7 separate regions of the Homo sapiens genome follow, and all the other regions are linked to region 2. Evidence: promoter capture Hi-C in 16 types of primary human blood cells and fetal thymus (Javierre and others, 2016). All regions are on one chromosome and are shown on one strand. Each heading gives the region's core, a stretch centred on a gene start or on the middle of the fragment in contact. The rest is flanking DNA. Distances are from core to core; before and after follow the strand shown.

The links. Contacts are between HindIII fragments. The CHiCAGO score rates a contact against its expected background, and 5 or more counts as called.
Region 1: a contact is called between a fragment that was not itself captured here and the fragment with the promoter of HEY2 in region 2, in 4 of 17 cell types (megakaryocytes, naive B cells, total B cells and 1 more). The highest score is 13.8, in megakaryocytes.
Region 3: a contact is called between a fragment that was not itself captured here and the fragment with the promoter of HEY2 in region 2, in 15 of 17 cell types (total B cells, naive B cells, megakaryocytes and 12 more). The highest score is 34.3, in total B cells.
Region 4: a contact is called between a fragment that was not itself captured here and the fragment with the promoter of HEY2 in region 2, in 7 of 17 cell types (naive B cells, total B cells, megakaryocytes and 4 more). The highest score is 9.6, in naive B cells.
Region 5: a contact is called between a fragment that was not itself captured here and the fragment with the promoter of HEY2 in region 2, in 12 of 17 cell types (non-activated CD4 T cells, fetal thymus, total B cells and 9 more). The highest score is 10.7, in non-activated CD4 T cells.
Region 6: a fragment that was not itself captured here is called in contact with the fragment with the promoter of HEY2 in region 2 in 1 of 17 cell types (total CD4 T cells); the score reaches 5.6 in total CD4 T cells.
Region 7: a fragment that was not itself captured here is called in contact with the fragment with the promoter of HEY2 in region 2 in 4 of 17 cell types (total B cells, naive B cells, endothelial precursors and 1 more); the score reaches 7.8 in total B cells.

The regions. Positions count from the first base shown.
Region 1 is chr6:125,393,799-125,396,638 of GRCh38, forward strand. All of the region lies in intron 1 of LOC102723341 (a long non-coding RNA gene), which reads right to left. Among named protein-coding and RNA genes, the nearest start is that of HDDC2, 93 kb to the left of the region's middle. The HindIII fragment of the contact is 3,042 bases long and covers 44-2,840 here.
Region 2 is chr6:125,748,309-125,751,158 of GRCh38, forward strand. HEY2 (hes related family bHLH transcription factor with YRPW motif 2) reads left to right here and starts at 1,324. Exons shown (of 5, transcript NM_012259.3): 1 at 1,324-1,551. The coding sequence starts at 1,469. It overlaps HEY2-AS1 (HEY2 antisense RNA 1), which reads right to left and starts at 1,117. Exons shown (of 5, transcript NR_183491.1): 1 at 651-1,117. RefSeq lists a silencer at 833-1,542. The HindIII fragment of the contact is 5,509 bases long and covers 1-2,790 here.
Region 3 is chr6:125,359,605-125,362,398 of GRCh38, forward strand. No RefSeq gene overlaps it. Among named protein-coding and RNA genes, the nearest start is that of HDDC2, 59 kb to the left of the region's middle. The HindIII fragment of the contact is 158 bases long and covers 1,429-1,586 here.
Region 4 is chr6:125,377,665-125,380,422 of GRCh38, forward strand. All of the region lies in intron 1 of LOC102723341 (a long non-coding RNA gene), which reads right to left. Among named protein-coding and RNA genes, the nearest start is that of HDDC2, 77 kb to the left of the region's middle. The HindIII fragment of the contact is 2,970 bases long and covers 1-2,758 here.
Region 5 is chr6:125,264,491-125,267,428 of GRCh38, forward strand. No RefSeq gene overlaps it. Among named protein-coding and RNA genes, the nearest start is that of HDDC2, 36 kb to the right of the region's middle. The HindIII fragment of the contact is 1,857 bases long and covers 549-2,405 here.
Region 6 is chr6:125,244,248-125,247,087 of GRCh38, forward strand. All of the region lies in intron 3 of TPD52L1 (TPD52 like 1), which reads left to right. Among named protein-coding and RNA genes, the nearest start is that of HDDC2, 56 kb to the right of the region's middle. The HindIII fragment of the contact is 599 bases long and covers 1,155-1,753 here.
Region 7 is chr6:125,411,634-125,414,403 of GRCh38, forward strand. All of the region lies in intron 1 of LOC102723341 (a long non-coding RNA gene), which reads right to left. Among named protein-coding and RNA genes, the nearest start is that of HDDC2, 110 kb to the left of the region's middle. The HindIII fragment of the contact is 1,915 bases long and covers 490-2,404 here.

The DNA.
Region 1 (2,840 bases), core at 315-2,814, 350 kb before region 2:
AACATCATCAAAACAAGGAAATACATCTTTTTCTTAGAACAGAAGCTTTCTTGGCTGCAGTGGGGAAGCATGTTTTTATTTTTAGGCGATTGCTCTTTAACAGGTAAAAGACATTGTGGAATCATTTCTCTGAGATGGAGATTAAGGGTAGAGGTACAGTTCAAATTTCACTTTTCTGGTTTTTTTTTTTAAATTAAAACCATTTTATTTAAAAATCACACTTGGGGTCCTAATAAAAACTGAAAACTTAATGAGATGGCTGGATTTTGCCTGTCAAAGCAAATTTAATGGGACAAAATTTAAAAATAGGGTATTCTGTGATGCCATGTGTTCAGGTAAAGTTAAAATTTTAGCTGTGTATAATAGTTCAAGATAATTTTTTAAAACTCTGTCTTTTCTATAATTATAATGCAAATCTTTTCTATTTATGTAATCTTTTGGTTTGAAGAAGATTTGATGAAATTTGCCCTATTTAGATTAGGGGCATATAAATTAATGCTAAAAAATATATCAAATAATTTTTATAGCATCTACTAACCAGGAGCATATCTAAATTTACATTTATTTTTCTAAAAGATAAAAATATAATTTTGGCAATAGAATTGTATTCGTCCATTTTCATGCTGCTGATAAAGACATACCCAAGACTGGGAAATTTACAAAGGGAAGAGGTTTCATTGGACTCAGAGTTCCACGTGGCTGGGGAGGCCTCACAATCATGGCAGAAGGCAAGGAGGAGCAAGTCACATCTTGGATGGTGGCAGGCAAAGAGAGAACCTGTGCAGTCAAACCCCTGTTTTTTTTTTTTTTTTTTAAACCATCAGATCTCGTGAGACTTACTATCACGAGAACAGCACGGGAAAGACCCGCCCCCATAATTCAATCACTTCCCACCAGGATCCTCCCAAGACATGTGGGAATTGTGGGAGTTACAATTCAAGATGAAATTTGGGTGGGGACCCAGCCAAACTATATTAAGAATCTGTTTTTGTATCTTATCTGTAGATACCAGATGTGTTTAAAGAGATAAAGGTAGTAGGGAGAAAATAACTTTTAAAGTTCCATTTACATTAAAAACTTTTTGAATCATCTGTACTTGAAATGTGGCTATGAACTATTTGTGACTGTGGTAATATATAGCAGTATAATTATCCAAAATGACTTTTCTCAAGGCTAGAATCCATCTCCAGTGGCATCTACAATACCCATAATTTAAAGCAGCTCTGAATTTTTTTTCTAGGTGTGCAATGTTCAAGATTTGAGGAGGACCTTCCTAATTCTAGGACTTAGTAGAAAAGTCAGTGTTCACTTTTCTATATATTCCCTTAATAATTTTATAAACTTATGTAATTCGTCCTTATAGTTATTTTTATTTAATAGACTTAAACATGTCATACTTTTTCCATTTATATAAATGTATTTATAAGATTTTTGTTTATATCTTTGCAGTCATTTTATACATATTATGTAGCTGATGTACATTTATGATTATATTAGATCTATAGTATCTTGAAACTTTATAATAGCTATTTACTCATATCAATAAAATTGATAAAGATATAATTTTAATTGCTGCATATTTCATAATATGGATCTGCTATAGTTTATTTAACCACTCTGCTTTGTTATAAAAGGGTTAGTTCTTTCTGACCTTTTGTTATTTTAAATAGTGCTATGATTAATTTATTTGTTCAGGAATTTTTTACTTTCTCTTTTACTAACTTCTTAGAATGAATTTCAGACAGTGAAAATACTGGTTCAAAGATATTTTCCCCATTGGTTTAGGATGTTTCTTTCATCATATATTAGGTTCTTATATATTACAGTCAACACCAGGCCTATGTATTTTGTTACATCAATCTGTCTACTGATTTTAGCACCATATTAAATTTTATATAAAGTTTTAATACCTTATAACATAAGTTCTTCCCTAGCTACTCTTTTTCAAACTTCTTAAAACATTTTGTCCCCAAATATTCTTGACTAAGTTTGTCTCTTTATTCTTCAAAATGAAGTTTACAAAATTTTTAATGTCATAAATGTATACCTTGTGAAATTTTATTGGACTTGAATAAATGTATAAATAACTTTGGGAAGAATTAACATATTTCATGTTTCGGGCAGTTCCAAGATGGCCGAATAGGAAGAGCTCCAGTCTACAGCTCCCAGCATGAGTGATGCAGAAGATGGGCAATTTCTGCATTTCCAACTGAGGTACCGGGTTCATCTCACTGGGGCTTGTTGGTCAATGGGTGCAGGAAAGGGGGTGCAGCCCACCGAGCATAAGCCAAAGCAAGGTGAGGCATTGCCTCACCTGGGAAGTGCAAGGGGTCAGGGAATTCCCTTTCCTAGCCAAGGGAAGCTGTGACAGGCGGCACCTGGAAAATCGGATCACTCCCCGCCTAATACTGCGCTTTTCCAATGGTCTTAGCAAAGGGCACACCAGGAGATTATATCCCGCAGATGGCTTGGAGGGTCCCATGCCCGTGGAGCCTCGGTCATTGCTAGCACAGCAGTCTGAGATCAAACTGCAAGGTGGCAGTGAGGCTGGGGGAGGGGCGTCCGCCATTGCTGAGGCTTGAGTAGGTAAACAAAGTGACCTGGAAGCTCGAACTGGGTGGAGCCCACCGCAGCTCAAAGAGGCCTGCCTGCTTCTGTAGACTCCACCTCTGGGGGCAGGGCATAGCTGAACAAAAGGCAGCAGAAACCTCTGCAGACTTAAATGTCCCTGTCTGACAGCTTTGAAGAGAGTAGTGGTTCTCCAAGCATACTGGTTGGTATGCTTGTGGTGAAGGATTTCTCTTGGTTGGTGGGTTTAATGTGTTATAGTTAGTCAAGGT
Region 2 (2,850 bases), core at 74-2,573:
AAGCTATGAATCCCTCCGTGACGGAGGGGTCTGGGGATCGATAGACGGCCCTTTCTCAGAGGCTCTCTCCACTACTGACCAAGCGGCCCTGCCAACGTGTGGTTTCCGGCTGGACCCCAACCCAGCCGCCGCCAGTCTCCCGGCGCCCCTGGCTGGGTCTCGCTCAGTCCCTGCCCTCGCAGACGCACAGCGGGGTGGCCAGTTCAAAAGTCCTACATAACTTGGAGAGAACCAGCAGCTAGAAAACCTGTTTTAAACACACAGCTTGAGTTTTATACAACCCACGTTGTCCAAGGCACGAACTGTTGGACACGAATTCATACTTTAGAAACCAAATCTAATTTCCAAGCGCCAATCTTCACCTCCCGGACTCTAACTCTGCGGCTGCGAGTGCATACACCAGGGGGACTGGAGGAGACTGGAGGCAATTATCTGGATAATCCAAGCCCGAAAAACTCGAACTTGAAAATATACGATTATGTCCTGAAATGCCCGCGTCATTGATCTAGTCTTTCCTACCATCAGAGCTGACACAGCTCCAGTCCACGGGCTTCTCCGCGGGGTCTAGGATCCACAGTCCCTGGGGGCTGAAGACCCAATGGAAGTAACTGATGGATCGCAAATTGGAAATCGTAACGTGGCCGACAGACCTGATCAGGAAAACTCGCGTCCTTATATGAAACAGCCCCGAGGCCGCGAAAGTAGCCTCAGGAGTTGTCAGATTCAAAAGCAATTTTGATTTAAGGTTTTCAAAAGCCCCAGAGGGCAAATGTGACCACTCGGGTCAGCCAGTCAGCAGTTTGGATCCAGACAGGGGACCACCGAGTGGGGCGGCCGAGGAGCCGCGGCGCCTCCCGACGTCACACGCGCCTGCTCGCACTTAGCCACGCGCTTGGGGTTATTCTTTACACTCAGGACTGAAACTTCGCCCGCGAGACCGCGGGGCGCGGAGGAGGGCCGAAACCCAAGGTCCAGGTCCAGGGCCCGCCCCCGCGCGCCCGCGTTGGCGCCCGCGCGCTCCCTCCGCAGGGGTTAGCAAGATTGCGCTCATTCTCGCCCCGGCTGCTCCCCACCCGCTCGCTGCTCTGGGGTACCAGGTCCGCGGCCGCGTTCCCACGCCTCGGCTGGAGCCTTGCGGCGGGCATTGGCGAGCGCGGCCCCGCCCCCTGGCCCAGCCAATCGCGAGCCACGCCGACCAGCGAGGGGGAGGTGCCGGGCGGAAGGCCTGGGCCGGTGCGCGGGGGCGGGTGAGGTGGCCCCACCCGCTCGAGGGGGGGGCGTGGCCGGCGCCGGCTCTTGCGGCCGAGCAGAGTTGCGGCGTGGGAAAGAGCCGCTAGGAGCAGACCGCGCCGCCGCCGGAGCCGCGCCTGCCCAGGCCCGGGGAGGGAGGAGGCGGGCGTCAGGGTGCTGCGCCCCGCTCGGCGTCCGAGCTTCCGGCCGGGCTGTGCCCCGCGCGGTCTTCGCCGGGATGAAGCGCCCCTGCGAGGAGACGACCTCCGAGAGCGACATGGACGAGACCATCGACGTGGGGAGCGAGAACAATTACTCGGGGTGAGCGCGGGCTCCGCGGGAGCGGCCCGCAGCTCGGGAGCTTGGGGTAGCTTTGTGAATGCGTGGCTCCCTGGAAATCCCGAGGCTGGTCTCCGCAGCATCTAGGTAGAGAGGGAAAGTTTGGCCTGAGAAAGTTTGAGTGGTGGGCGCTCGCAGAGCGTGAGTTGGGATGGGGCAAGGGATGTGGATTTTCACCGTAGGGGTGGAGTAGCCAGGATGGGAGACGCCACTGAAAGGCAGAGCGCAGGAGTTGGCGAGGGAGGGTCCTGGCTGTCACAGTTGGACGCGCGAACGGCAGCGTCTGGGCGACAGGCGATGTCCCAGCCACTGAAACCGTATTTGGGGGCACTTTCAAAATAGATCAGGAGAAAATAAAAACAATTTGATTTTTGATTTTTAGAGATACCAAAATCACAACTTGATTTTTGGAGGAATTAAAGCAACCTGCGATGTCAAGGCTACGTAGGTTGAACTTTGCAGGTTGACCGTGTGTGACTTGGCTAACGCAAGAGTGAGTGACAGATGTAAGCATCGGAAAGGGCATCATTTCTTTGACTGCTTGTTCTCAAGTCTGGAAGAGATCGGCGTCGTAATCACAGAAGCCAGACCTCCACTTTCCTGTGACAGAGGGAGATTACCGAGGCATTTTAGAGCCAAGGCGGGTCAAATGATAATTGCTTCTAATTGGCATCCCCAGAAGCACCTTAATTATTTATCTGCAGCTGTCACTCAAAGAGGGAAATTCTTCCTACCTTTGGAAAACTGGTTTTCTTTCATATTGTTATTCTAATACATACAAAGCAAAGCACAAAATCTGCAAGAGCAAAGATATTTACACGAAAGCAAAGGTTTAAGTATCTGATCATTAAAGTGTTGTTGTGCCGTCTTTAAAAATGAGGTCTGAAAAACAGAAGCTATCACGTGAAAGGTGAAACCCGTAAAGAAGGGGTGAAAATGAGGGGGACAGGTAATTCAGAAATAAGATCCAGAAGTGAGAAGGTGAGGTAATAGCAACCTGGTGTGTGCAGCATTTCTAAAATGAAAGAGAACAAATAACAGGAACCTGGGGAATTTGAGAACACAAAGAAGCATAGTATCCATGAATTATGAAGAGAAACAGATACAAACTAGAAAGGATTGTAAAAATTATGTGACCAAATAATACTTTGATTGAACCTTCAATATAAAAATATATTTTCATTAGTAAATCCAAGGTGCATTGCAGCTTCTGGAGATTTAAGCTTAGCCTAAAGTCTGAGACACACCTACAGTTTCATTTTCAAAGTAAAACATTCACCT
Region 3 (2,794 bases), core at 258-2,757, 390 kb before region 2:
AAAAGAAAAAAAAAAGCAGTGAACAATTCATATATACTCTTATTCTCCAAAGGGAGAGAGAGAGGGGGTGAGAGAAAGAAGAGGAAGAAGAAGAAGAAGGAGGAGTAGAAGGAGGAAGAGGAGGAGAAAGAGGAGAAGAGAGAGGGAGAAGAGGGAGGGAGAACAGGAGGGGGAGAAAAAGAAGAAGATAAAAAATAAAAAGAAGAAGAATCAATTTATCATATCTCTCTCCTTGCTTCCTTATGGTACACACCCCTATCTCCTATTCTAGCAGTACCAGGTTGTACATTTACATCTTTTGGGACAACTGAGATATCAACTATGCTCACCATCTGGTTTGTTACTCCAGAACACTAGTAAGTGGGATGTATGTCAGGTTTTCTCTGTACCAGTTGTAATCAGTACATGTGGTAACCGCACTGAGATATTCTGACTCGAGGAGATACTTCACAGCTGGTAAACTGATAAGCTAGTCAAATTTAATAATTCTAATTTCTGTTTTTCCACATACTTATAATTTTCCCCAGTAAGTATTATGTTGATCTTGTGTTATTAATAAAAATTATAGGGTGTTTTGATCATTTTTGTGACTGCTGGGACAGTTCTTAATCTTCCATGCTTTTTAAAGAATTTTGATAAAGCAAAGCACTACTAATTTTCAGACAGCTACATCTGCTTAGCTTATATAATTAGGTTTTTATAAGTTTCTTTCAAATTTTGTCTGTGCCTCCCAGTAAATTGTTTGAAAACTCACTGGTTAAAAATGACAATTTCTCACCATTAGTTCACACATTTTGAATGTTTGTGTATCCTGGAGTGGTCTTACCACTTTTAAATCAGCTTTTCCTAAGTCAATTAGCTTTAAAAAATTATAAACTTATTTATGTCTACTGATGTTTACCTGCTTAGCACTAGTCTAAATTGTTCTTCAAATGTATTTTTATATTCTTTTTATTTTTTATTCAAGAAAGAAAAAAATAAAACCTCTAAGAGGAATGAAGCCCTATTTTTATTGTAGTTTTTGATGGATATTACTGAAAAGAACATACAAATCGTAATTGTTTTCCTAACGTGGGAAAGCAAAACCTAGAAAAGTACCACCTTAATCTGCAATTAAATGAACTATAGTGTATTCATTCAATACAATTTCATTTTATCATTTCTTTAATGACAGCAAATTTGTTATGTATAAGTTTACAAAGTTGTTCTCATATTTTAAAAGCATGAAAGCAAGTTTCAGAGAAGTATGGGTAGCATGATTCTATTTGCATGCAAATGGTATAGACATATATATCTTTGCTTATGCAGAAGAACTCTTTGGAGGTACCCGCACCTGTTAACAGCAGCAATCCTGGGGCATAAAATGAAGATATTTTCTATAATGCTCTGACATTTGATTTTACTGAAATTGGATTTTTTTCTAATAAAAGCTTCAAACAAAATTCCATGTTTCCAAAGAACAGGGGTATCTCCTTAAATTTTAGCATATCTGTTTAGTTCACCTATCTCTTCATACACTTTTGGTAATGCTCATCAATGGATGGGGCCTGTACTGTGGCTGAATGTGATTAGGTCTTTTTACAGAAAGCTTTATTATTACTTACTGCTCCAGTAAAATTAAAATAACCAAGTGTCCATTCTAATATTTTTCAAAGACTCCACTCTACTTAATTTCTCTTATCTCTTCCCACACCCAAGGCCATGCCTTCATCTCTAGCAGTGCAAACCTACCTGATATGCCCTCAGAGCATATTTCTCTATTTGTTTTAGTCAAACCACTCATTCCTCTTCTGCAAAGCCTTACTTACAGCTCCCCTCTCTATGCAGCATTCCCATCGCCTTTGACCCTGAGACCACGGTTATCACTGTGACCACTGCGCAATACTGCTTCTTCCTCTCTCCTTCACATATCACTCAAGTTTGACCTTCTAGCCCAGAAAGCACACAGACAGCCTAACCTCAGAAATACTACTATTTAGTTCCACATGGGTTTGCAGAGCTTTCTGGTTACAACACATTTTGAAGAGAGACCTTTAGATTTTGTCTTATCTCAAAGTTCAGGTAAGCAAATTAAGCTCAAAAAATCATTTCTGGGAGAACATCAATCTTTGGAAATTTTTTTCAGCCATTTCATATTGAGGCATTCGTGTTTTTTACTTTGCTTGTATTAAATAAAATCTAATCGCTGAAGAGGTTTTTCAGTATTCTTAAATGGTTCTACTTTGAGATTTAAATGTTTTTGCTTATAGACCATACCATAAACCCTTGTTACTTGTGTTTGGTTGGTTCATTTGTCTTCTGCCTAGCACCACTAAGCCCAGTATTCCAATATTAGCTGATCTCCTTAGTCCTTCCATGGCTACGGACTACGCAAATGCATGCCCTTGGTCAAAAGTAGGTGTGGCAGGAAGAAAGCCAAGGAAAACACTGAGAGGAGCTGGGGAACAGATGTGATTATTACTTTGACACTTTAAAATGTGCCCTAGTTTGCTTTAAGTACCTCATTCATAAACAAATAGTTTCAAACATTATTGGGCATTTCATGGGCACTTTATGAGTATTTTCAAGGCTGCATCAATTAAGCAAGCAGCTAATCATTTCATCCACCTTTTTCAGGGTATGTCAGAGGAGATGTGGACAGATAAGATATATGGACAAATTATTAACTATGTGAAATAATTTCCCTAGAAATACCTAACTCATGTAAGCAAGTGTTAGGTATTTCTAGGGAAGAAATGTAACTTTTTCTCTGAGAGACTGGGAATATATTCATAGTTAAAGGGACACTTGGCCT
Region 4 (2,758 bases), core at 218-2,717, 370 kb before region 2:
TTAAACACAAACAACAGCAACAACAAACAACGGAGGCTGCTGGCCCTGAGAAAGAGGATGCGCAATGTTTACACTGGAGGAGAAATATTTTGCCACCCCACAAGATGTGGCGCAACTCCCCTCCCTTTCTTCTTGGGCAAAGCAGAGGAGTGACTGAGTTTTATCTCATGTTCCTTTTCTTATGAGGGATACGGGCCCCCATGCTGCTCAGGCTGACTTCTCATGGAAGAGGGGCTGAATCTGAGTCATTAGAAAACCACATATGGTTTCACTTCCAATGACATCTGGAAAGCAAGAGGTCAGATAGCATCATAGAGATGTCTTGGTGAAAACAGGGACTGAGCTAACGCTGTTCTCTTTGGGAGATTAGTAGGGAGCGAAATGTGGATGGAATTTTAGTGGAGAATTAGAATAATGTTTCTTTTCCTTTACTCGCCTTCTCAAATTACCCTGAAGAGGAGAGGTAAGGACAGAGAAAAATAGGGAAGAACAGCAGAAGGAGCTACTTGAGGGATCACAAGAATTTAAATAAAATCATAACCCTCCAAAAAGAACTGAAAGTTTTTCAACCTCATTTAAGTACTCCCCTTGTGTCTCAGCACTGAGTGGATTCTCATTAACATTTTATATTTAAAGAATTTAGAAATAACTTCTATACATTTTGCTAAAATTTGTTTCTCAAGGCATAATAATTTTCATTTAATTTAACGTGATCAAATAACATAAACCTTGCTACATTTAAACAAATAAAAATAGTATTGGTACTAAAGAAAGCATGTTCTTGTTATAATAGAATCAATTATGACCAATTCATACCCTCCCCAGAATTGGCACCAAGAAACGTGATGGGCACAATAGAAAGATGAGGCAGAAAGCACTCCCTCTCCCTCCCTAAACACAGAACAAGTTCCCTCAAGTCTAATCCCCCCAGCAAGGGATCCCACAGTTTTTCATTAATACAGTACAAAAACATATGGTTAAGAAATAAAAAGAATATAAAGAAATGAGTAGAAGAGCTACGGAATTCAAAGAAAACACATTCCCTGGTTCATACCCACATCTAACTGCCTCAGAAATTTCAACAAACATCAGATGTGATTTTCAAGATGTTTTTTGCTTATTTATGAGCGAAATGCAGGGACTTCCCTATGGGGTAGTAATAATATTTTCTTTCCTTGTATTGAGTTATAATTGTATAGGGTTATTGTGAGGATTAAAATGGGATCTTTGTAAACTGTTGAAGAAATATATAAATTTGTATTTCCAAATTATGAAAACTAATTCTTACTGTTCAGGAAGTGTGGATATGGTTATAGAAGAAAGGAAAGGATAGATTTTTGCCCTAAGTGTGTACCAATCTAAAGATAAAAATTGAAAGTTGTTTTTGGAGAAAAAAAATCCTGACATTAGCCATTTAACAAAAAAATCATTCTTCTTTTCTAGAAGTAAATTCCAGAGAAAAGTAATCCAGTACTGATTTCTATGTGTGTGTCTTACAGTGGAATATAACATATGGGAAGAAATGCCCTGCCCAAAAGGTTCCAATTTTCTTAGAAAGCCCTGAGATCAGGATGAAAGACTGAAAAGAGGGAGGAAAGAAGGGGGGATGAAAGAAAAGTAGGGGAGGAGAGGGAAGGAACAAAGGAGGAAAGAAAGCCACAATAAGACCCAACAAGCAAATGTCTTTTAGCTTCTTAAGAGTAACTTGCTGTTATCCTGCGTGCACACACTGCAGCCCAGCGCCACTATTTGGGCGTTAGCTAGTTTTTTAATCTGAGGCTTTGACTTCCTTTCATCTTCCTGAATCTGATCTAGTTCATCTTTAGAAAGTGCTTAAGGGACTGAGGATCGCAAAGACTCACTCTAAAGAAGATTAAGGTAAATAACAGGTTGGGAAAGGGTTTTTTTCTTCCTTTTGAGTTCAGGCCTTTGAGAATATTTTCACATTTATTTCTATTTAAAGCAAAATATAATTCTTTTACAGGAGTTGAAAGTTGGAATCATTATATCAGCAGGAAAGAGTATCTACTCCACATTCATCTACACATGATGGCAGGATAGTGAGAGTAAAAATGTTAGCAAAATCCCAACCCCGTTCTCCCAAAGTGTGCAGTCATCCCTTCGATTAACACATAATTTACTGAGCACCTACTATGTGCTGTGCATTCACTGTCCCAGGCCTTGGAGATATAGTAGTGAACAAAACAGATGAAAATTTCTTCTCTCAAGAACTTGACATTCTTGGAGTAAAAGGTAGTGAACTGGAGATGCTCTAAAACATCACTAATTTGTCAGATATTACTTGCTTTAAATGCTCTCATATATGTGCATATTGAGTAAGTCTAAGAGTAAGATAAGATTTTTTGAAATTCTAGAAGCAGGAAATAAATGTTTTAAGATCCTTGACCATTTAAGAAAGTTGGAATATATACAAAATATAAGTTTTAGTAGTTTTAAAGCAAATCTAAAATGATTTTTTTAGTTTGAAGAACAAAAGTAGGTTATATAAAATGATTTTTTTCCAGAAATTTTTAATTTTTGGTATTCAGAGATTGACAGTTCGGGTGCCATATAAGCAAGGAAGAAAAATATTTTTCCAACATATTTCACGGGAGAGATGGGAATTGGAGGGAAAGTTTTAAAAAATATTTCTCCCCAACTTTTCTAATTTCATTTTTGTTGTGCTCTCATAAAGCCCAGCCCAGTGTCCTGTCTTTTATAGCTTTTCAACGAATATATGTTGCACAATTATTTTGTC
Region 5 (2,938 bases), core at 227-2,726, 480 kb before region 2:
GAATCTTAGCAGAGAGAATGGGGCTGTAAACTTGACCAGAGTGGACAAATGTAGACAAAGAAAGCTCACTAGCAGGGATGCTGGCATTCTCCCTTATTTGTGCTTCCAGCCTGTTGGTTGAAGTAGAGGCAGGAAACCAACCCTGCCCAGCTGGTTCTCAGGCCGTGCTGGCTCGCCCACCACAGCACACAAGTACTCAGTCTCTGTGCCCAATCTATAGCTGCCTGTTGAGTGTGAAGTGGCTAACTTGTGAAAACTCCCTGCCACCTTCTTTTTTTACCATATTCAGCACACCGCATTGTATTAGATAAAGTTATGGTACTTTAAACAAATATCTCCGTTCACCAACCAATTTCTGCACACCATAGTCTCAGCCTTATAATCTGAAAACACAATATTAGAATTGGATAGAAAAACAATCAAGAAAACTTGTGGTAATATCTTAAAGCTTCCAACACATTTTAGCTATTTATTTTATTCCATTCATCAAAATTCTGATTTCATTAGTTTGGTAAGAATCTTATGCACATCATCTCTATTCATCTAAAAGCTTTTCATTATTCACTCTGACCTAGAAGTGATATTCATAATGGCCATGGCATAAGTAGCATTTTTTATTTTTGTCATAAAATGTGTGTGAATAACTCAGATTAGATAAATCAAACACTTGTTGGTAGGTGGGCAGTCTTACCTAGTTTAGGCAGTGAGCCTACTCTTAGCTTCAGGAGCATCACTAAGAGCTGCCTGGTCCTCCCTCACCATGGGTGTGCAAGATCATCCTGATGGGACTGATTGCTGAGCTTCTCAATTACATCTAGTGAGGCTCAGTTCACAAGCAGTAGTTTAAAGTGTTTCACAAGTCCTAAAAAGTAATTGCACACAATGGACATAACCTTTTACTAACAAACCAAAATGACTTCAGGTCAACACCATGTGTGTATGAAAGGATACCTCCACAGAAAATGTACAGTTGACCCTTGAACAACAGGAGTTTGAACTGTGAGGGTCCACTTATGTGCAGATTTTCTTCTGCCTCTGGCACCCCTTGAAACAGTGATACCAACCTCTCCCCTTCTGCAGCCTACTCAACATGAAGACAATGAGGATAAAGACCTTTATCATCATCTGCTTCCACTTAATGAATAGTACATATATTATCTCTGTTGTTTTTCTTTTAACATTTTGTTTCCAGAGCTTACTTTATTGTAAGAATACCACATGTAATGCATATAACATAAAAATATGTGTTAATTGGCCATTTATGTTATCAACAAGGCTTATGGTCAACAGTAGCTGTTGGTAGTTAGGTTTAGGGGGTGTCCAAAGTTAGAATCAGATTTTTGTTTTATTTATTTATTTATTTTTTTGAGACTGAGTCTCACCCTGTTGCCCAGGTTGGAGTGCAGTGGTGCAATCTTGGCTCACTGCAACCTCTGCCTCCTGGGTTCAAGCAATTCTCTGCCTCAGCCTCCCGAGTAGCTGGGATTACAGGCACCTACCACCACGCCTGGCTAATTTTTGTATTTTTAGTAGAGACAGGATTTTACCATCTTGGCCAGGCTGGTCTTGAACTCCTGACCTTGTGATCCACCTGCCCTGGCCTCCCAAAGTGTTGGGATTACAGGCGTGAGCCACAACTCCCAACCTAGAATCGGATTTTTGACTGTGCAGGCCTAATCCCCGAGTGGCTCAGGCGTCAATTCTTTCAATTATCAAAAATTCTGATGCAATTGTGATTACAAAACAAACTAGCTTTTAAAAAAAGTAAGCCATTCTGAAATTTAACGATTTACCACATTTTAAACACAGTTGCTATGATGAACATATTTGTAAATTTACAGTGCTACTTTATCTCACAACTCACATCACATAAAGATTACAACTATTGGCTGGGCATGGTGGCTCATGCCTGTAATCCCAGAACTTTGGGAGGCCAAGGTGGGTGGATCAACTGAGGTCAGGAGTTCGAGACCAGCCTGGCCAACACGGTGAAACCCCGTCTTTACTAAAAATGCAAAAATTAGCTGTGCTTGATGGCACATCCCTGTAATCCCAGCTACTTGGGAGGCTGAGGTGGGAGAATCTCTCGAACCAGGGAGGCAGAGGCTGCAGTGAGCCGAGATCTTGCCACTGCCTTCCAGCCTGGGTGACAGAGAGATGAGACCCTGTCTCAAAAAAAGATTACAACTATTGGCAGGTCATTTTAGCAATGCAATCTGCATATCTTACTCTAAATTACACATTTTGTTAGAAATCTGTTCTTGAACCATAGCAAACAGAACAAAGTGCATGCTTTAGGATGTGTCTTCATGATATGCCATGCCGTTCACAGTGGCCAGTGTAGAGGGAACCCAGGGATCTACACGGCTCTTCTGTCACTGTTCATTGTTCCAAAATTACGTGTAAGCTTTAAAGTTGTTCAACATCAACCCCATCGTCCTCCTCTCACTTAGTATTCAATTTGAGTGGAAGTAGTGTGATAAAGGAAGATGGTGGTAAGGTTGAAAAGTGACTTAATATGAAATGTGAAACAACTTCTTCAAACCTAGCATTCAAATGTAATTTCAAACTATAACAATATTTGGCAAAATCTTATGGCTACTTTTGATAACTTCTAAGCATGGTAAAATTCTTTATGCTACATTTCTGCTTGACTTTCAGTTCACACCAGAGGGTATATTCATGTACACACACATTATATATATAATATATATAATACATATCCATCCATTATATATATATATAAATTAAAGCAAACCAAAAATGACAAAATCATGTCTTTCACAGAAATCATCCCATTTCACCTTTGAATGTGAAGACTGACAAATTGCTTAAATGAAAATGCTGAGTACAGAGATGCTTTTTTTTACAAAGCGCTTCATCAGTCATTTCCCCCAGAGCATGTATCACCACCACAAGGCTTTGAGGTGGATCAACA
Region 6 (2,840 bases), core at 204-2,703, 500 kb before region 2:
TTCCCACTGTTTTATTTACTGAGTTGACTTTAGGCCATTAGGAGAGGTATCCCTGGTTAGGCACTGGTTGTGGCTAAGGCAGGTGGGTAGATGTAATACCCAATGGTGGGCTGAGGTCCCAGCCTTGATGAAGTTGGCTGGAGGACCTCTCAATTAGATGTGCTGAGGTTTCATCAAGGTGAGGAGTGGGAGCTACCTCAGCTCTCCTGCCAGGTCAGCAGGAAAGCTACTCACCTCACAGCCTTATTCCTGTCCCAGTGTTCTGGCTATTCGGATAAGACAGGCACCTCTTTTCATCTATGGAAATGTTGATGTTCCAAGTAGGGAAGAATTGTGACTTTGCCTCTCATGCAGGCTTGAATCTGGAGTGTGTTCCTCCTGTGGGGCTGCACTCACCCTGGATTGTTCCAGAAAGGCTGTCTATAGGTGCCTCCATTCTTCTGGGGGAAGCCCAACTGTGTCTGCAGTAGAGTGCCAGGGGAAACAAGGACCCCTTCTTTAAGGTCCTACACAATCACAGGGGATGCCTGCCGTTTGGGGTAGAGGTACAGACTTTCCCTACTGTGCCCAGCACTGCAATTGTGTCTCTGCTATGAGAAACTTCCCACCACTGGAAAGATTTGGAACTCAAGGCCTGCTGTTCACATTCTTTTGTACCATAGGGTGATCCTTTGATGTAGTGCTCGCCCCCTTCCCTTAGAAATGGGACATCCTGAGAGCTGGACTGCAGTGATTGTTATTTCTCTTCTTAGTCTAACCACCCAGCAGGACTACCAGGCTCCAGGCTGGTGCTGGCAAATGTCTGCAAAAAGTCCTGTGATATGACCAGTCTTCAGGTCTCCCAGCTGTGGATACCAGTACTTGCTCTGGTGGAGGTGGCAGGGGAGTGAAGTAGACTCTATGAGAATCCTTGGGTTTAACGTGCCGGCTTTCTCAGATGCTGGTTATGCTAGCAGTGAAGTCGTCATGTGGACAGACTCAGGACCTCTGGTTAGCCAGGATGTTACAGGCAGCAGTATTAGCTGTTCTTTTCTTCTTCCTGGGATCAGGGTTATTCTGTCATGAGTTGCAGTAATGGCCTGAGTTGGTCTGCCTCCAGCCAGGAGGTGGTGTTTTCAAGAAGGCACCAGCTGCAGTAGTAACAGTGGGATTTAAGCTTGCACTAAATTGTCCAAGGGAGGTATTCTGGTTTCTCAGGCAATAGGTGGGTCCATAAAGCTCTCAAGAGTTTATGTCTTCTGTGTTCTGCTACCACGGCAGGTAGAGAAATACCATCAAGTGGGGGCAGGGATAGACTCTCCTTGGGCGGGTCAGACTCTCCTTGGGTAGGGCTTGCTGCAGCCACTGTGGGGGTTGGGGGGTGTGGTTCTCAGGCCAGTGAGGTTACCTTCCAAAGGGGATTATGGCTGCCTCTGCTGTGTCATATAGTTTATCAAGGAAGTGGGGGATACCTGGTAGCAAAAGGCCCCACCCAGCTCCCACGCAGTTGGCGAGGCCAGTCTCACTCCTGCAGTGCTCTGCTAATAGAGCCGAGTTTCCATCCAGGCAGCCTGTGCACAATGAACTCAGACCTGCCCCAGGCCATAGGCTTCCCTGCTGAGAAAGCAAGCACAGCTTTCAGGCCTCGCCCCTACCTGTCTGCCCACAGTGTTGGTAGCTCCTGCCCTCATATCTGCAGCAGTTTCCACTCACCCCCCAGATTCTGCTTAAGAAAGTTCACGCCCAGTGGCAATTATTATAAAATTCAGTTGGAAGCTTCTTTCACCCCATGACCCCTCCCTAATTCCACTGGCTGCCTTCCTGGAGGCGCTCTGTGAGATACAGTTATATACCTTCCCTGGGCTCAAGCTAGAGAAACTGGGAGTGCCTATAAGGCTTTTCCCATTGCTGCTACTATTGTATTTCACCCAGATCCCTGAATCCATTCCAGCTCTAATTTAGGTTAAATCCCTCTCCTGTGATCTGGATTTTCAGATTCCCTAGTGGAATTCAGAGGCAGGTGGTTCAGAGGCAGTGGGTTCAGAGGCAGGTTTTCTCTCCTCTCGCACTCTAGGAACTCAGTTTTTCACCCGTCTCTCAGAATTTGCAGTGGTGTGCCACTCCTTTCAAAGGATCTGTGAATTCTTTCGGTGTTCCTGGTAAGTTCCTATGGTGGTTCTTGGAACAAAAGTTCATGATGTGAGTCTCCACACACTATTCTGTCTGAGCAAGTGCAAGATGCACATTAGCCCTGTCTCCTATCTGCCATCTTCTGCCTGTCTCCTTGATAATAATATTTGATTTCATGTATAAACTGCCTGAAATTCCATGGTTTCATGTAGTCAAAAAATGTTTTTCCAAAATTAAAAGCTAAAATCATGTAGCAAAATGTAAAAATAAAATTTAATTTGAATGAGCTGACATTTTTTGGACCTTCAGAGAAAAAAAGAAATTAAGCAAACTTCCTAAAAGCTGTTCATTTCTTTCATCTTGTCTCATTTGCTGTTTGACCCAGTGCCATCTGGCATCCACATTCCTTGTTCTCCTCACACAGTCCTCTCCAGAGACACAAATTACCCCCTAGTCACCAGATTCTTCCTTGACCCTTATTCTGCTTGGTCTTTTCATTTTTGATAGGAAATGTCTGTTCAGTAAATGAACATTTGGTTTTATGATCTAGTTAATGTATGTTTTTATACTTCCTAAAAAAACATTGTGTTAATAAATAACATATAATGCTAACAATATTATAGACAGATTCCATTCTGCTCACAAAAAGAATACCACATTAATAAAGTTATTTCTGTCCTAGGGAAGACCAAGGCACATATTTGAAAATATTCACTAGAGCCTGAGATCAT
Region 7 (2,770 bases), core at 197-2,696, 340 kb before region 2:
TTCTTTTCTTTATGTTTACTACCCCAGTTTTTAATTTGTAAAAGTATTCTGGCTTATTTGTATGTACAGGAACAGAGAGACTACCATTGCAGAAATTTTGTAAATGGGATGTGATATAGGAAAGCATTCACACCTCTCAGTAAATAGCTCTGAAACTCTTCTCTTACAGAAAGTCCCTGGATAGCCTTTTGCTAGAACTTTTCGTGTTTGAAAACTTAGTATTTGTCATCTATGTTTCCAAGAGCTATTCAACAAGAAATTTCATAGAAATATGCTTTATGTTCTTTGGAGAAAATGATAGATAACTATGTCATTTTGAAATTGACTTTGTTTCCTCCCAGGAGGAAGGGAGGAGCCGGGCACTTCCCAGTACCAGAAAAACAAGGCAGGCAAGGGCAACAGCAGAGAAGAGGAAAGGAAAAGAGACTGTGTCCTCCTTTCATGAGAAGAAATAGCTCTTCCTGGGGCCACACAGACCAATAATACTAAAGCTTAAAGGAGGTTGAAAGTGGGAAAGTGCCTCTGCTGCTCAAGACTCCTCATGGCCTTCTGCTGCCATGAAGGCCAGCATCTCATGCAGATGTCCAAAAGGCTGCTTTTGGCTGCCACATCTGCAAGCTCAGTTGCTGGACTGTCCAGATCATTCTCTAGGGCAGCCTAGATGGAAAGGGAAAAATTGAACCAAATTTTATTTTTATGACCATAGAACTTACGTTTTCTCCTCAAGTTTGGAGAAGGAACCAACTAGATCTTACTTAAAATGCAAGAATACACCCAGTACCATGAGATGAGCTTTTATATTCCAAGACAGAGCCTGGAGCCCATCTTTTTAATTATGTTAAAAGACCCAGAAACTCTTACTTCATAATGACAATAAGACTGTATTGGAGCTGGAGGATACCTCCAAAACATTAACGCATCAAAGATGGTCATGTATTTGGTTTAATTGAATAAAAGAAAACGTCATGAAAATCTTTAAGTCAGCTGAACCCGGTTAAATTTTTCAAAATCTTGGAAAATTCTCTTTCATCTACGCTGATGAGGTTTTTAAACTTTTATTTCGGCTTACTAATTTGCTCATCTTTGAAGTGTTGAATTGGAAGCAAACCATTTAGCTTTTGATGATTATTTCCAGAATTTGGAGTCTGATCTCTTGGTTAATTTGCCTCGTGTTGACATGAAGTGTATTCTAGTGGCATATCATAAGTAAAAGTATAAATGTTCCTTTCTTCATCATCCTGAATCTAAGCAGACTCTATGTATGACATGCAGAGTCAATAGCAACAGGACCAGGGATAGGCATTCTCCACTAGTGAGTAATGTATTTCAAACTCCTACACTAGACCTGCCTTCGCACGTTAATATGTCCTTGGAAACTTTTAATCAAATTATTAAATTCAAGTATATTGTATTAGTCTGCTTAGGCTGCTATATCAAAGTCTGGGTAACTCAAACAACTGACATTTATTTCTCATAGTTCTGAAGACTGAAGCATAAGATCCGGGTCTAGCATGGTTGGGTTTTGGTAATGGCCTGCTTCTAATCTTGCAAATGGTTACCTTCTTACTGTATCCTAACATGGCACAGAGAGGAAGCTCTGGTGTTTGTTCCTCTTCTTAGAAGGGTATTAATCCCATCGTGGAGGCTCTAGCCCTCATGACCTCATCTAAACCTTATTACCTCCCAAAGGCCCCCGCTCTTAATACCATCATGCTGCGAGTTAGAAGTTCAGCTCGAGAATTTGAGGGAGACACATTCAGTCCATAGCATAAACAATTACTAATTTCAATTATTAAGTATTGCTTATAGTTAGCTATCGTACGATTTTTTTTGTTTATAAATTTCTTTTATTTGCAAATATAATTTAAGCCCCATGAAGTCCTTGTGAAATGTTTATCTTGATCTACATTTTGTAGAGAGGACAACAGCTTGAAGACTAGAGCTTGATGAAACAGCAAAGTGTCGGAGCCAGTGCTTGCCTTCAAGTTTTGACCATTTCATGCTTTTGTTACACTTCACTTGCAGTGGTGAGAAATAATAATTTTATGTATGCACGTATGTAAAGAGGCACTAAAAATACAAAAGCACTAGATTTTTCAAAATCATCATGAAATGGAGAAGGATTTCCTAAAGATGACATAAAACCAAGAATCCAAAATGAAAAAAAAGACAAATCTGACTGGATAATAATATTAAAGTTCTATAACGTATAAAATAAATAAGAAATAAGAATATGAAAATCACAGAACAGATAGGAAATATTTAAGATGCATATGACAGATGGGGGCTAATTTTCTTAATATACAAAGAGCTATTATAAATCAAGAGCAACAAAAATGATTTAAAAATGAACAAAGAACACGAATAAGACATTAACAGAAAGAAATACAAGTATATAAAAGTAAGCTTGCTCTCTCTTACACAAGTTGAGCATTTCTGTTCTGAAAATCTGAATTCAAAATGCTCCAAAATCCAAGAATTTTTGAGCACTGACGTGACGCCAAAAGTGAAAAATTTTACACCTGATCTTCTATCATGGCTCACAGTCAAAACACAGTCAAAATTTTGTTTTCTGCACAAAATTATTTAAAATATTGTATAAAATTACCTTCAGGTTGTGTGTATAAGGTGTATATGAAACAGAAATCTCAGTTTTCTTTTCTGAATTTAACTAAGAGTAATACTCAGGTACTTGATATTTGTTTTAAAAACAAATGAATAAATGGGTTAAAAATTGGTAGCTTTGTCCTAAAAACAAAAACAAAAACAA